Regions from separate parts of the Homo sapiens genome. Here regions 2, 3 and 4 are each linked to region 1. The links are contacts of gene promoters, found by promoter capture Hi-C in blood cells and fetal thymus (Javierre and others, 2016). All regions are on one chromosome and are shown on one strand. The core of a region is centred on a gene start or on the middle of the fragment in contact, and the rest is flanking DNA. Distances in the headings are between cores, read along the strand shown. Region 1 holds the start of PIANP (PILR alpha associated neural protein). Region 2 holds the start of C1R (complement C1r). Region 3 overlaps C1S (complement C1s). Region 4 overlaps LPCAT3 (lysophosphatidylcholine acyltransferase 3).

The links. The method cuts DNA at HindIII sites, captures the fragments that hold promoters and counts their contacts. A CHiCAGO score of 5 or more calls a contact.
Region 2: the fragment with the promoter of C1R here is called in contact with the fragment with the promoter of PIANP in region 1 in 2 of 17 cell types (activated CD4 T cells and non-activated CD4 T cells); the score reaches 6.0 in activated CD4 T cells.
Region 3: a contact is called between a fragment that was not itself captured here and the fragment with the promoter of PIANP in region 1, in 1 of 17 cell types (naive CD8 T cells). The highest score is 5.4, in naive CD8 T cells.
Region 4: a contact is called between a fragment that was not itself captured here and the fragment with the promoter of PIANP in region 1, in 1 of 17 cell types (non-activated CD4 T cells). The highest score is 5.2, in non-activated CD4 T cells.

Annotation. Positions count from the first base shown.
Region 1 is chr12:6,699,009-6,702,268 of GRCh38, reverse strand. It overlaps PIANP (PILR alpha associated neural protein), which reads left to right and starts at 1,454. Exons shown (of 5, transcript NM_001244014.2): 1 at 1,454-1,655. RefSeq lists an enhancer at 2,173-2,674. The HindIII fragment of the contact is 12,862 bases long and covers 1-3,260 here.
Region 2 is chr12:7,090,500-7,093,759 of GRCh38, reverse strand. It overlaps C1R (complement C1r), which reads left to right and starts at 1,315. Exons shown (of 11, transcript NM_001733.7): 1 at 1,315-1,373; 2 at 2,080-2,308. The coding sequence starts at 1,372. RefSeq lists an enhancer at 973-1,267. The HindIII fragment of the contact is 12,054 bases long and covers 1-3,260 here.
Region 3 is chr12:7,065,465-7,068,724 of GRCh38, reverse strand. C1S (complement C1s) reads right to left here. Exons shown (of 12, transcript NM_001734.5): 7 at 2,755-2,908; 8 at 2,092-2,207; 9 at 1,608-1,686; 10 at 954-1,082; 11 at 195-269. Among named protein-coding and RNA genes, the nearest start is that of C1S, 6.4 kb to the right of the region's middle. The HindIII fragment of the contact is 335 bases long and covers 1,467-1,801 here.
Region 4 is chr12:7,001,163-7,004,422 of GRCh38, reverse strand. The region is part of intron 1 of LPCAT3 (lysophosphatidylcholine acyltransferase 3); the gene reads left to right. Among named protein-coding and RNA genes, the nearest start is that of LPCAT3, 16 kb to the left of the region's middle. The HindIII fragment of the contact is 2,800 bases long and covers 268-3,067 here.

The DNA.
Region 1 (3,260 bases), core at 205-2,704:
GGATATATTTTGGACGCAGAGCCCACAGGACTTGTTGGTGAATTAGATACAGGGAGAGAATCAGTGAAAAAAAGGGGAAGGGAGGGATGTTTCCTAGATTTTTAGCCTGAACAACTAGTAGTTGTGAAGCCTCAGGATGGGGATCACTGGGAGAAAAATGGATTGGGGGTGGGGGAATTCAAGACATCTATTTTAGTCAAGTTAGCTTTGCATGGCTATTAGACATCCAAGTGGAGATGTCAAGTAGGCTGTCGGATAAATGAGTCTGGCGCTCTGGATATAAATTTAGGACTCACTGACATTTACATAGTATTTAAGCCCTGGGACCGGATGAGATCACTGGACAGAGAATGTGGAAAGAGAGAATGGCCAAGGACTAAGCCCTAGGAGGCTCCAACATTTAGAGGTCACCCGAGGAAGACTAAGAACAGTCAGTGAGGTTGGAGGGAAATGAGGAGAGTGTGGTGTCCTGGAAGTGCCCTGAGGAAAAACAGCGTAGTGTGGTAGAGAGGGATGGGATCCAGGTGGTGGGAGAAGGGGCAGGAGAGGCTACTTTTGATAGAGACATTAGGGAAGGCCTCCCAGAAGGCGTTGGATCTAAGTGAGACTGGAATGAAAACAGTAAGTCATTGTGAAAAGCCAGGGAAATGTATTACTGAGGGAACAGCAAGTGCAAAGGCCCTGAGGCAGGTTAAACCTGTCTCCAACCAGGAAATCCACCAGGTCCCATGTGGCTGAAGCATAGAAATCTTTAGGAAAGGCAATCAGAGAGCCACCTAAGAGCCAGGTTATATAGGGTCTTGTAAGTCACAGCACGGAGTCTAGGTATTCCAGTGCTGGAAAAGCCCAGGAATTTCGACGTGATCCACTTAATGCATGGTAGCAGGGCCAGAGTGAAATAGGGGATCAAGCTGTGGGGATAATCCAAAGATGGTGCAAGGTCCTTCCTCCCCAGTCCTTTCCTCCACCCCTTGCCCCCAGCCTTGACCTCAGGCACTTTCTACAGCGGGCAAAACCAAGTTGGGGGACAGGCAGTGGTGACTCACGCCTGTAATCCCAGCACTCCGGGAAGCTGAGCGGGAAGGATCGCTTGAGCCCAGGCGTTCGAGACCGGGCTGGGCAACACAGCGAGACCTCATCTCTACAAAACACAATACAAAAGAACAAAGTTGGGAATGCAGAGCATTGAGTGACTCAGAATCTCAGAAACTGACTGAGGCGACCATGGGTGTCCCTGGAGTTGGGGTGAAGGAGGTGGGGAGACTGCCATCAGAACCCAGGGAAGCGGACGGTCGCTGGACCCTGCCAGCCTCTTCAGCCCTCCACCTGGGACATAGCCTGGCTTGACTCCTGCAGCGCGGCAGCAGGAGGGTTAAACCGTGCGTGGCCTCCGGCGCGGGGGGGAGGCGGAGACGGAGACGGAGCGGTCCCAGCCGCCGCGCCGAGCCCAGCCGAGCCGAGCCGAGCCGAGCCGAGGCGAGCATCTCCCACCGCCGCCGCCCCGCGCCCCAGGCGCCCGCCCCCCACCCGCTCCAGCGCCCTGCCGCGGGCCAAACCTCCCCACCATGCCCCGCACCCCGCCCGCTCCTGCGACCCCCCAGCCCCGCTCAGTCCCGAGCGCCCGCAGTCGTCGCGCCGCCGCGCCAAGCATGCAGGTGAGTGAGAGGGACCCCCACGCCCCCACCCGCGGGGAGCCCGGCCCTGCCCTTCCCGGCTCCGCGCCCTGCGCCTCCTGCCCCTCCCGACGCGGTCCCTCGCCCGGGACAAGGCCTCCAGCCTCCCAGCGCCCCTTCCCCGAAGGGCTCTCCATCCCTCCGCGGTCCTGGCTCGCTCCCGCCCTCCCTGGCGCAGCCGTCCCCGTCCCCGCGGCTGCCTCCATCCCGCCTCGGCTCGGCGGGCGGCTCCGCGCAGTCTCCTGCTTCGGGTCCCCAGTCCGCTCTCGGCACTCCCTGCCTCGGGGTCCCTTCGCCGACCTCCTTTTCCTCGTCTCCCCCCACTCTCGCCGCTCTCCAGCCCTGTGCGGGGAGTGCGGGCCTGCGGGATGGGTGGGATGGGGGCCACGCTGGGGCTGGGGCCCGGCTCCCGCACCCCGAGGCTCCTGCCCCACCCCCAGCTCGTCTCCTGCGCACAACAGGTCGGTGAGAAGCTGGGAGAGGGGTGGGGGTGGCGCGCCAGCCCGGGGACTGCGGGCTTCCTGGAGGGGGCGGCTGAAGCTGTGCGGGGCCCAGGGACTGGGTTGGCGCTGGCTGGGGGTGGGGATGCACAGGCGGAGGGGCGATAGTCCTAGAGTCAGCTGGCCACAGATGCGCCCTGGGAGCCCTTCTCCGCTTCACTGGTTCGCTCTACACGCCTCGCTCCCTCCCTCTAGCTTTCTTCCTTTCCCCTCTCTCTCCCTTCTTCCCACCATGCCCCCATCCCTATGTCTTTCGGTATCTCCACATCCCTTTACATTTGGGGGAGCAATTCCGAACTCCTCCATCTTTGCTGCTCCCGCCTCTGCTTCCCAGCCCGTTCCTCGTGTCATTTTTCCTTAAGCATTTATGTTCTCTCCTTCCCCACTTCCTTTCTCCCCATCCTGGGCTTTCCCCCCTTTTCTCCCATCCCCTTACTCTCCACTCCTCTGGCTGTCCTGCCTGGACCGCTCTCTCCTTCTCCTCCTGCCCCTTCTTCCCCTGCACCTGTGACCCCTTCATCCTCTCCGTTTCCCCTCCCTGACCTTTTCTCTCATCCTTTCCTCCCTTCGGCATCCTCCACAGTTCGAGTCTTCTGTACCCACTCTCCTCCTCTCTTCCCAGTTCTCTCTTTTTCAGGACTGCCTGCTCTCTCTCACCCTGCACTCCAGGCCAGCTTCCTCTTCACATTTCTCCTCTCTCACTCTTAACCAGCCTTCCATCTCCCAGCCCTTCACCCCTTCCCATCTCTCCCACTGCCTGCTTCCCCACGCCCTTCCCGTGACTTTCCCATCTTGTTCCCTTGTTGTTCTCTGGGAAGATTCAATGGGCAGATTTATTTATTTTATTTTTTGAGTCGGAGTCTCGCTCTTGTTGCCCAGACTGGAGTGCAATGGTGTGATCTCAGCTCACTGCAACCTCCGCCTCCCAGGTTCAAGGGATTCTTCTGCCTCAGCCCTCTGAATAGCTGGGATTGCAGGCGCCCACCACTACCCCCGGCTAATTTTTGTATTTTTAGTAGACACGGGGTTTCACTATGTTGGCCAAGCTAGTCTCGAACTCCTGATCTCAGGTGATCCACCCGCCTTG
Region 2 (3,260 bases), core at 66-2,565, 390 kb before region 1:
ACCTTCTGTGTGCCTGCTGTCTAACTACTGATGATGTGGTCACTGCCTGATGGGGAACTGCATCAGCTCTGTGAATTCTTGCAATCTATTGCCTGGGAAAGTGTCTTGCACATTAAACAGGTAGCCCATAAATGGATGAACGGGGGTGGGGGCAGAAGGGTGGAGGTTGGAGGGATTCATCTAATAAGGGAAACAAGCAGAACAGCCTACAAAGGCTTAAGAACGCAGAGTCCTGCTCTGCAGCCCAAGCCCCTCCGTGGGATGAAGTGCCATCAGATATTTGGTGCCATGGAGAGTTGATGAAGAAAGCCTTCCAAAAACAATGAAATTGTTTTTTAATTTATTTTAACTTTTAGAGACGAGATCTCACTATGTTGCCCAGGCTGGTTTCGAACTCCTGGGCTCAAGAGATCTTCCCACCCTGGCCTCGAAAAGTGCTGGCATCACAGGCATGAGCCACCACACGTGGCCAAGAGCAAAAGTTTTAAAGCAGGACACTATGGCCTGATGGACAGGAGAGACTAGGGTCCCTCCTCCCTCCCAGGGGCCTGGCTTCATCTCAGAAAAACCGAGTCCCTCTTGCTCCACACCCGCATCCTTAGCTTCAGCCCTGGCAGTTGTGTTGAGCAGATGCTAAGGAGATGGGGACATTTTACCCCCTCCGCAGCCGCCCCAGAGGGTCTCAAACCCAGGGCTGATTTAGGGTTGCCCTGACATGGCCAACCCTATTCTATGTCCAAGTGTCATTCATGGCTAAAGCAGGCCAGGGCCCCAAGGCAACCAAGCTCCTCTCTCCTCTGCCCGCTCCCACACACCCTCCTCTGCCCCAGTGTTCCTATCATTACGTCCTGGGCATTGAAACCCGGGCCATTCTTGGACCAGGGCTGTGGGCTGAATGAGGGCAGGAAGAACAGGGTCAATGGGAAAGGACAGCCCAGAAAAGAGAATTCACCACCACCTGTGGTCTCCCACTGCTTTGGTAGGAACCTTGTAAACACAGCAGCAGCCCCCAGGAAAGTCTTGGAAGAAGGGAGAAGCTGATCAGATTTAGAGACTGAGACATCTGGGCCTCCAACCCAAGGCTCCCCGGGCCCTAAAAAGCCAGACTCCCGTCTCCTTAGCCCTTTCCCTCACCGACCAGCAGGTGGCACCACAAACAGGGATTTCAAAACCAAAACTAAATTAAAGTGGAAACTCAGATCTTTTGTTTATGCAAATAGTTCATTCCCTCCAACATTCCTCCGGGAATGGTCCCCCCTCCACTCCACAGAAAACCCTCCCCTCCCTGCTGTGCATGACGCGGGCTCCCTCTGCACACAGTGCACGAAGACGCTGTCGGGAGAGCCCAGGATTCAACACGGGCCTTGAGAAATGTGAGTAAGGGTGATGGGCAACCAGGTGGGAGGGAGAAGCCAGGGGAGAAGCCAGGGCATGGGAGGCAATTCAGGGAGACAGGAACACCCTTCTCTCTTCACACACCTCATCAGTTCCACTGTGCACACGCGTGGACACACACAACACACGCCCCATCCCTCCTCCTAGGGATCAGAGGAGACTTCATACATAGATGCTCATGCCATGGTCCTTTCTTCCCTCTGGGCTCTTGGCAGGGAGCAGCGAGAGGAGGGGACCCCTTGCCCAGGACGGGACACTCTGTGCCTGTGTCCCCCACTCCACAGATGGTTTCTCCCAGACGCTCTTGCTGAACCTGTGGGAGCCCTTTCAGAGACCCACGGGTGGAAACCCTCACCCTCCATTAACTGGTCCCAAGCCAGTCCTATTCCTGGAAGGGGAGGGGAGGGACGCGTCCGGGCAGGGGAGGAGGCTGGAAAGGGAGTGTGAGGGGAGTGTGGTGGCCTCTGGACTGGACACTGCCCTGGAGAGTGACCCGATGCAGCAGCTGCACAGGCCATCCTCCCCACCCACGCACCCCTGCTGAGAACATGTCTGTGAGGTTCAGGGTGGGCAGAGAGGAGAATGCCCAGTGGTATGGCCGTCTCATCCCCTGCCACAGCCACTGCCCACATGGCAAGAGTGCTGAACCCCTCCAGCTCCAGATACTCTCTTTTGTTTTGGCAGGTGGCTCTTGTACCTCCTGGTGCCGGCCCTGTTCTGCAGGGCAGGAGGCTCCATTCCCATCCCTCAGAAGTTATTTGGGGAGGTGACTTCCCCTCTGTTCCCCAAGCCTTACCCCAACAACTTTGAAACAACCACTGTGATCACAGTCCCCACGGGATACAGGGTGAAGCTCGTCTTCCAGCAGTTTGACCTGGAGCCTTCTGAAGGCTGCTTCTATGATTATGTCAAGGTAGGGGCAGGATGGGCGGGCAGAGGGGAGACAAAACTGGGCCCTCTGGGATCTGGGATCTGTATGGCATGCACACCCCCAGACACAGCCCAGCCCCACAAGAGCTGATGGCCAACGGCCTCTCTGAGAGCCCGGGGATGCCCTGGATGGGCGCTCACTGGTGTAGAGGCCCTCGGTGAGCACTGAGGGGAGAAGCACAGAGAAGGAAGGGGACAGGACCCACTCAGGAAATTCAACATCCACTGAGTCAGGAAAACCTTCCCCATCTGCTGTCTAGCTGAGAGTCTTTGGGAAACCACTGTGCCTCAGCTTCCCTGTCTCCAAGGAAATGATTGACATGGCTGCCTGCTTCAACAGGAACACAGGGACATGAGGAGGAGAAATGTGGGCTCTGGCAGCACAGGAATAGCCTTCAGCAAGGACAGTGTGCTCAGAACCCTCACCTCTGTGGCAACCAAGGGTACCTTCCCAGGCCTGTCTTTCTCTATCCAGTAAAAATGAGATTCAGGGCTCAAGCAGAGCCTGCGAAGGTCCAACAACTACCATTCCCAGGAGACCCCTGGAGATTATGCGTGAATTACATGACAATGGCACGTCTTACCGGCTCAGAAGACTTGGCGAGTGTGCAGTGTTGGGGGAGGGCGTTTGCTGGCAGAGTCAAGGAGAGGTTGAGGAGGCTGTGAGGAGGAAGGAAGAGGGACGAGGCAGTGCCTGCTGACACTGAGATGGGTGGGCTTCAGGGCTCATGTTCCGCCGAGGGCATCAGGAGGCACTCGAGGTGTGAATGGTTTGATTAGGCTGAGGTGGAATCTGAAGACAGAAAATAAAGCGGAGCTGTCTGAGCTCTGGGAATGAGGGGCAGGTAAAGGCTGGGTACAGACAACCAGGACCCCAGGGGAACAGGCCATAGGAGGTGGTGGGGATGGAGAAGGACCTGAAACCTGCCAGAGGA
Region 3 (3,260 bases), core at 385-2,884, 370 kb before region 1:
GCCTGGCTTCAGTGCGGCTGAGGAGGTTCCCCACGGCCCTGGCAGCCCACGGCACAGTGATACTGCCACCTCACTGAGCTGGACTCTGGCAGGTCACTGTTCAGTCCTTTCCCAAGAGGATTACAGTTGCTTTCAGAAGGTGACTCCCAGTCACCCATGGCTATCATCTCTCCCCAAGCCTCAGCCCTCCTTACCTGGAACACATTTCGGCAGCTCCGGGCCCAGCACCTCATTCACCCAGCTCCCGTTACCAGCACAGTGATACTCCCCTGGAATAGCACAGAGAACACAGGCCACACTCACCACCACATCTTCCTTCTTCCATTCCCCCCTCCGACCCCAACACCCTGCCCCGTTCCTTCAGAACCTCAGCTCGTCTAGGATTCAAGTAGTAAATCAGATTAAATCAGCCAGAAAAAAAATATCTTCCTCCAAACAATCCCTCAGGCCTCTAGCCTGCCAGGGAGACAAAGGGAACATCTCCAAAGCAGAAGGAAAGAAGGCATCGGGAAAGTGGCGAAATAAATACAGAGCAATGCAGAGAACGTATTAGGGTCTCATTCAGCCCTGCACCTAGCATGACCAAAGCCTCTACATCAAGAAAGCCAGTCAGTGTAGTTTGGTGGCTTAAAGCTGAAGGCATTGCTCCTGTGGGTTTTACATGAAATAACTGGTCAAAAGGTGGGTAATCCCATGAAATGGATGTTGTAGGGGAATTCCTGCTGCAGCTGTGAACTCAGTTGGTGACCTCTATGATTCCCTGAGGCTGATGCTCCCCTGAACTTGCCCTGCTCCAGATGAAAACTGTATCTTTGGACGAAGCCAAGGGGATGAACAATGTCTGTCCTATCGCCTTCATTTGTCTCCAAACTCTGTCTCTGGCACAGATTATGCTATCCACCCTCCAACACCTTCTCACTCTCTCTCTCTCTTCTCCAGTAGAAGAAACCTACCACCTCCTCCATTTTCCATGTAGTAATATGGCTCCTCACAAGTGTAGCGGATGACAGAACCAAACAAAGTGCTCTCTGGGTCTTCAACTTTACCATTCTCAATGGATTCAGGAATGCCACAGTCCACAGCTACCAGACGAAGGAAGGAGAGCGATGGTCAGGACAGCCACTTCCTCCAAGGAAGAGTCATGGGGCCAGGTTCATCCTCACTGCTTCCCCACCCCATATCCACAGGCACACCTGGGATGAACCTCCCCACACCAGCCTCTCTGTGGCCATCCTCCCCAACTGGCATCTCTCAGCTCTCTCACCCGCTGAGATGCCAATTCAGATGGCCCCATGAAAGCCGTAGTGAAGAGCCTGGTTCTCAGTGGTTGGTGAAGGCCCAGTGGAAGCCACAAATGCACCCACGTGGGGCTACTAACTCGACCTATCCCATAGCCCCTTTCTTGGAAAGAAACATGCCGATCTAGTTGGCCTGGGACCAGATGCGGGGCTGGGACTAGAAAAGCTTCCATGACTGGCTTCCCTTCAAAAACCCAACCCACTCCCTCACATGCCTAAGAGGAAACCATGCATTTGAATTTTGATGTGCTGATCTTTCCATTCTCTCTGAGAGAAAAAGAAAGACTTCCACTTTGAAGAGACACATACGTTGACATTTCAGTTTGGAATTACTCCACTTTCCATTGCTTTGACAAGTCGAATAGAAAGATGTTGCACCAACACGTCCCTGGAGAATAATAAACATCACCACTTATTTCTGAAGAGAGATATGGGAAACCAAAATCAAAACTGGAATTGATCTCTGGCCTTGGATCAATGAGGAGTCCTCACCACAAGAAGCTTGGGAACATCTTAGCAGACCTAAAGCACCCAGGAGATGAGGCTGACAGAAAGCTTTGCCCCAACGTGTCAACTCCCCTTCCTCAAGAAGACTGAAGGCAGAGAGAATGCCAAGCTGGCCAGGCAGCTCCATGACTCACAAGGGAGAACTACAGATCTTAAGCTGTTGTGTTTATGGGAAAGGTGTTATACCTTGATCACACACATACATTGGGTAAACAACTGGACAATTTCAGTCCGCTCATCCTGATCTGGGGCCAGGGACTGGGGAGAAGCCAAGGTGGTACTTTACCTCCACAACTTCAAACCCATCCAGACAGGTTATCTGCACCACATCTCTAAAGACATATTTTGCCTTCGCAGGCTCCCAAACAGAATTGGGAGTGTCTTCCTTAGGGCAGGGCATTGCTTGAAAGAACAGAAGTTGGGACAGGAGGAAAAAATTACTAAATAGTTGAAGACTCTCATTCTATTTACATCATTCTCACACTTTCTAAAATCGTCCAGTTGTCCTCAATCCTGATGCTTAACATTCCAATACAGCAGATGTCTAAAATCATATGGCATTACCAACTAACCACCCGCAAGCTGTCTGCAGTCTCAGGTCTAGTTAAAGGATTACTAGAGGTTGAGGCATTTCTAGCAACCGTTGACTGGTTTAGATTTTCCTGAAGAAGTGAAGTATCTCAGGATTCTATCAGAACAACAATCTATCTGTTTTTTAAATTATTGTTGCTTTGTTTTTGTTTTGTTTTAGAGACAAGGTTTTGCTCTGTTGCCCAGAGTGGACTCAAACTCCTACTTCCTGGGCTCAAGGGATCCTCCTGCCTCAGCCTCCCTCGGTAGCTGAGATCACAGGTGCTTCCAGTGTGCCTGGATCATCTACCTGCTTTGATCCCACATTGTTTGGGGACTTTGGTATCACCAACCAAAGAGGCACTTCTAAGTTACTCACGATCTCCATGATAGCGAAGTTTCCAGCCCTTTTTTTGCCCTGTTAGATCAGTTTGGAAGATGATATCAAGAGCATTACTCTTGGTTTCAATATTTAGAGGCCCAGGGAATCCATGACCACAGTAAGGACCAAATTGCCGATCTCCTGCAACAAACTGAACAAAATGATGAAATCAGAAGAGGGAAAGAACTAAAGGGAAGAGGTAAAATTGGGAAGTGGGAGATACAAATAAAAGAGGCATTAAATGTCACATAAAATAAGAAGAAAATAAGGGTCAGGAGAAAAGATAATTTTATCTTCAGGCTGAGTGCAGTGGCTCACACCTATAATCCCAGCACTTTGGGAGGCCGAGGTGGGAGCATTGCTTGAGGCTAGGAGTTTCAGGCTATCCTGAGCAACATAGCAAAACCCCATCTCTGTAAAAAAAAAAAGAATAACAATAAAAATATTAGCTGGGTTTGATGACACACGTCTGTGGGCCCAGCTACTCAGGAGGCTGAGGTGGG
Region 4 (3,260 bases), core at 418-2,917, 300 kb before region 1:
AGATAAGGATACCTACTCATCAAGGTTGTTTTGAGGATTAAGTGGGTTAATACATACAAAGTGTTTACAATGTCAAGCTTAAAGAAAGGTCCCCAAAAATGTCAGCTGCTAGTCTGAAACTCCAGAGCAGGTTTGAGAGTAACCCGCTGTTGTTCTCTGCCCCGGATAAACTATGAAGTAACAGTCCTAAAGTGTTAAAAGACAAAACAAATTTTTCTTTGTGAAAAATGACCCTTTAAAAAAACTCCATCTACTAATAATGAAGCTTAGTAGTAGTAAAATGATGATTTTTAGCCATAAAACGGGTTTTCTATATCTTCACAAATATAGTGTAGAGTTTCACAATATTCTTTGATATGAACCAGTCTCTCATACTTTCTGTATAGCACTGATTCGCTAAGTAAGATGCCAAGGCATGACCTCCCTTCAGGAATTGGGAATCTGCATTTTTAATAAGCATCCTAGGTAATTCTTTTTTTTTTTTTTTTTTTTTTGAGACGGAGTCTCGCTCTGTCGCCCAGGCCGGACTGCGGACTGCAGTGGTGCAATCTCGGCTCACTGCAAGCTCCGCTTCCCGGGTTCACGCCATTCTCCTGCCTCAGCCTCCCAAGTAGCTGGGACTACAGGCGCCCGCCACCGCGCCCGGCTAATTTTTTGTATTTTTAATAGAGACGGGGTTTCACCTTGTTAGCCAGGATGGTCTCGATCTCCTGACCTCATGATCCACCCGCCTCGGCCTCCCAAAGTGCTGGGATTACAGGCGTGAGCCACCGCGCCCGGCCGCATCCTAGGTAATTCTTATGCATGATACAGGTTGAGACCAGTGCCATGTACAGAAGTGGGAAAAATGGCTTATGAAACTCAGTTGTATTTAGCACACTGTGTTAGACATAAAATTTGAAAACCCAACCTGGACAACACAGTGAGACCCAGTCTCTACTAAAATAAAATAAATAAGTGAACATTGAAAACCAATGGATAGTAGAATGTATTCAGTTCAGTGAGACATGAAACAATATTTTTGCTTAATTGAATCAAACATATGTTAAAAAAAAAAAAAAAACTCACCCTACTCCCAAAGCACTCAATAAATTCTTCAGAGAAAAGGAAGAGCTTTTTGTACTACATTGCCTCTAAAATCTTCTGTAGGATAAGACATTTTAAGATCACTTAAAATCTTGTTTTAAGTTTTTAAGTCTCATTTTAATAACCAAATAAAATGGTTTTTATTTGAGCCAGTTTCAAGTTCTTAAAGTGACACATAGGACTTAACAAAATCCATTAGTTGTCATTTGTGCTTTGCCCATTTTTACTGATTTCTTCATACTCTGAAGGAAAAAAAATGCTACAAATGTATGTTGGTATATAAGAGAGTGCATTCCATAAATATTAGAAATTTTTTTTTTCTTTTTTTGAGATGGAGTTTCACTCTTTCGCCCAGGCTGGAGTGCAGTGGTGCCATCTCAGCTCACTGCAACCTCTGCCTTCCAGTTTCAAGTGATTCTCCTGCCTCAGCCTCCTGAGCAGCTGGGATTACAGGCGCCCGCCACCACGCCCAGCTAACTTTTGTATTTTTAGTAGAGATGGGGTTTCACCATGTTGGCCAGGCTGGTCTTGAACTCCTGACCTTGTGATCCACCCACCTCAGCCTCCCAAAGTGCTGGGATTACAGGCGTTAGCCACTGCGCCCGGCCAGAAAAATATTTTATAGAATTCAAACTTGTATTTTCTTTTGAAGGGATATAAAAAGGGTGAGAGAACCCAACAACCACACTTATTCAAATTTATAAGGATAATTAGGAGTATTCTCATGGTTATCTTTAGAATCTTAGCAGGGTAAAAAAGAGTTTATTGTTTCATTTGCTGAAACTCCTGAGAAGAAGTCTCACCACATTTGTATTTACAGAGATTAGATTTGGCAACTCTAAAGACAAGAGAAATTACTCATGATAAGTGTTTGGAGGGGTTGGAGAGAAAACAGCTAATTAGGCACTTGGCAGTGTGGCAGGGCAACCTTTGGGCAACCCAGTCCAGATTAGGTTAGAAGAGGAGCACGGACCTTTTGTCCACTGCAAACCAGTGCCACAAATGAAGTGGGAAGAGACAGGTTACCACATACTGGTTGGACTTGAGAGAGAACCAGAAAGTGTACAATCCCATAAGCATAAAAAATGGGGATAAAACTTCAAGTGTATATAAGGGTAAGAACAGGAGGAAGCAGTAACAGAGAGGGCAGGAGAGAAAGATCAGAAGGAATCGGACGCCTGAGAAGAGGAACTGGGGGCTGAGTCCTGTCCTGGCCTGGCCGCTCCCCATTCCTCCCTCTGCCTCTGAGGGCTTCAGTTTTCCCAAGTGAGAAACAGCTGTGCTAGATTGCTTCTACAGTCCTTTCCACTCCTGGACCGAAACAGTTGCCCCTGCATCTAAAATACGTAGCTCTAGCATATAAAATGCAGGTTACCTCAACTCCCCCCCGACTCCCACATCTCACTCCCTTCCTTTCCCTGCCTGCCCTAATTCTGGCTGCGTTCTGTTCTTGCCTCATATGGACTCTTTTTCTCCTCCCCTTCTTTTCCAATGTCATGCAGTCTCTTAACACTGGGTTTCAACCACTATACAGAAAAATGTTAGTGAAAAAGGAAGAGGGGTTCCATGCTGCTTGATTCTCCCTAACCAGGCACACTAAACTAGGGGTGACAGTGTATCACAAAGTCCAGACTCACAGTCTTGCTGCCCCTTCTCCTCTTCAAAGTTTGTTTCCGAAGTACCACCCCTTGCACCTCACATCCCAGCCAACTCTGCCTACCTGTCAGCCCCAGCCCTCCTCAGGCCTGCCTCAGCCTCACAGCCAGGATCCTACCAACACCAACACCGCGCCAAATAACCCCTCCCAAAAGCCTCACCGGAACTAATCTGGGGACTCTGCCTATTATTAGGAACACCTTGGATGAAGCCCCTACCCGCAGAATTCTGGCAGTAGCAGCAGAATTTTCAGGCATGTGCCTAATTTTGTTGGGGTGGTGGTTGATTATTTTTTTTAAATCTAGGATTTCTGGGATCTGAAGCTTATACAATCTTGGATATCTTCTTTAAGAAAAAGAATACAAAAATATCTTCTATAAGTTTTACAAAAATATATGACCATGTGAGCACGTTGCTAGCTCCCGCCCCCACCCCACCCCCCAGAGCCTTGGAAGGGGAGTGAAACTGAAGCTTTTTTAGCTTCATGGCAAATATGCTTCTTCCTGAGAGTACTGGGT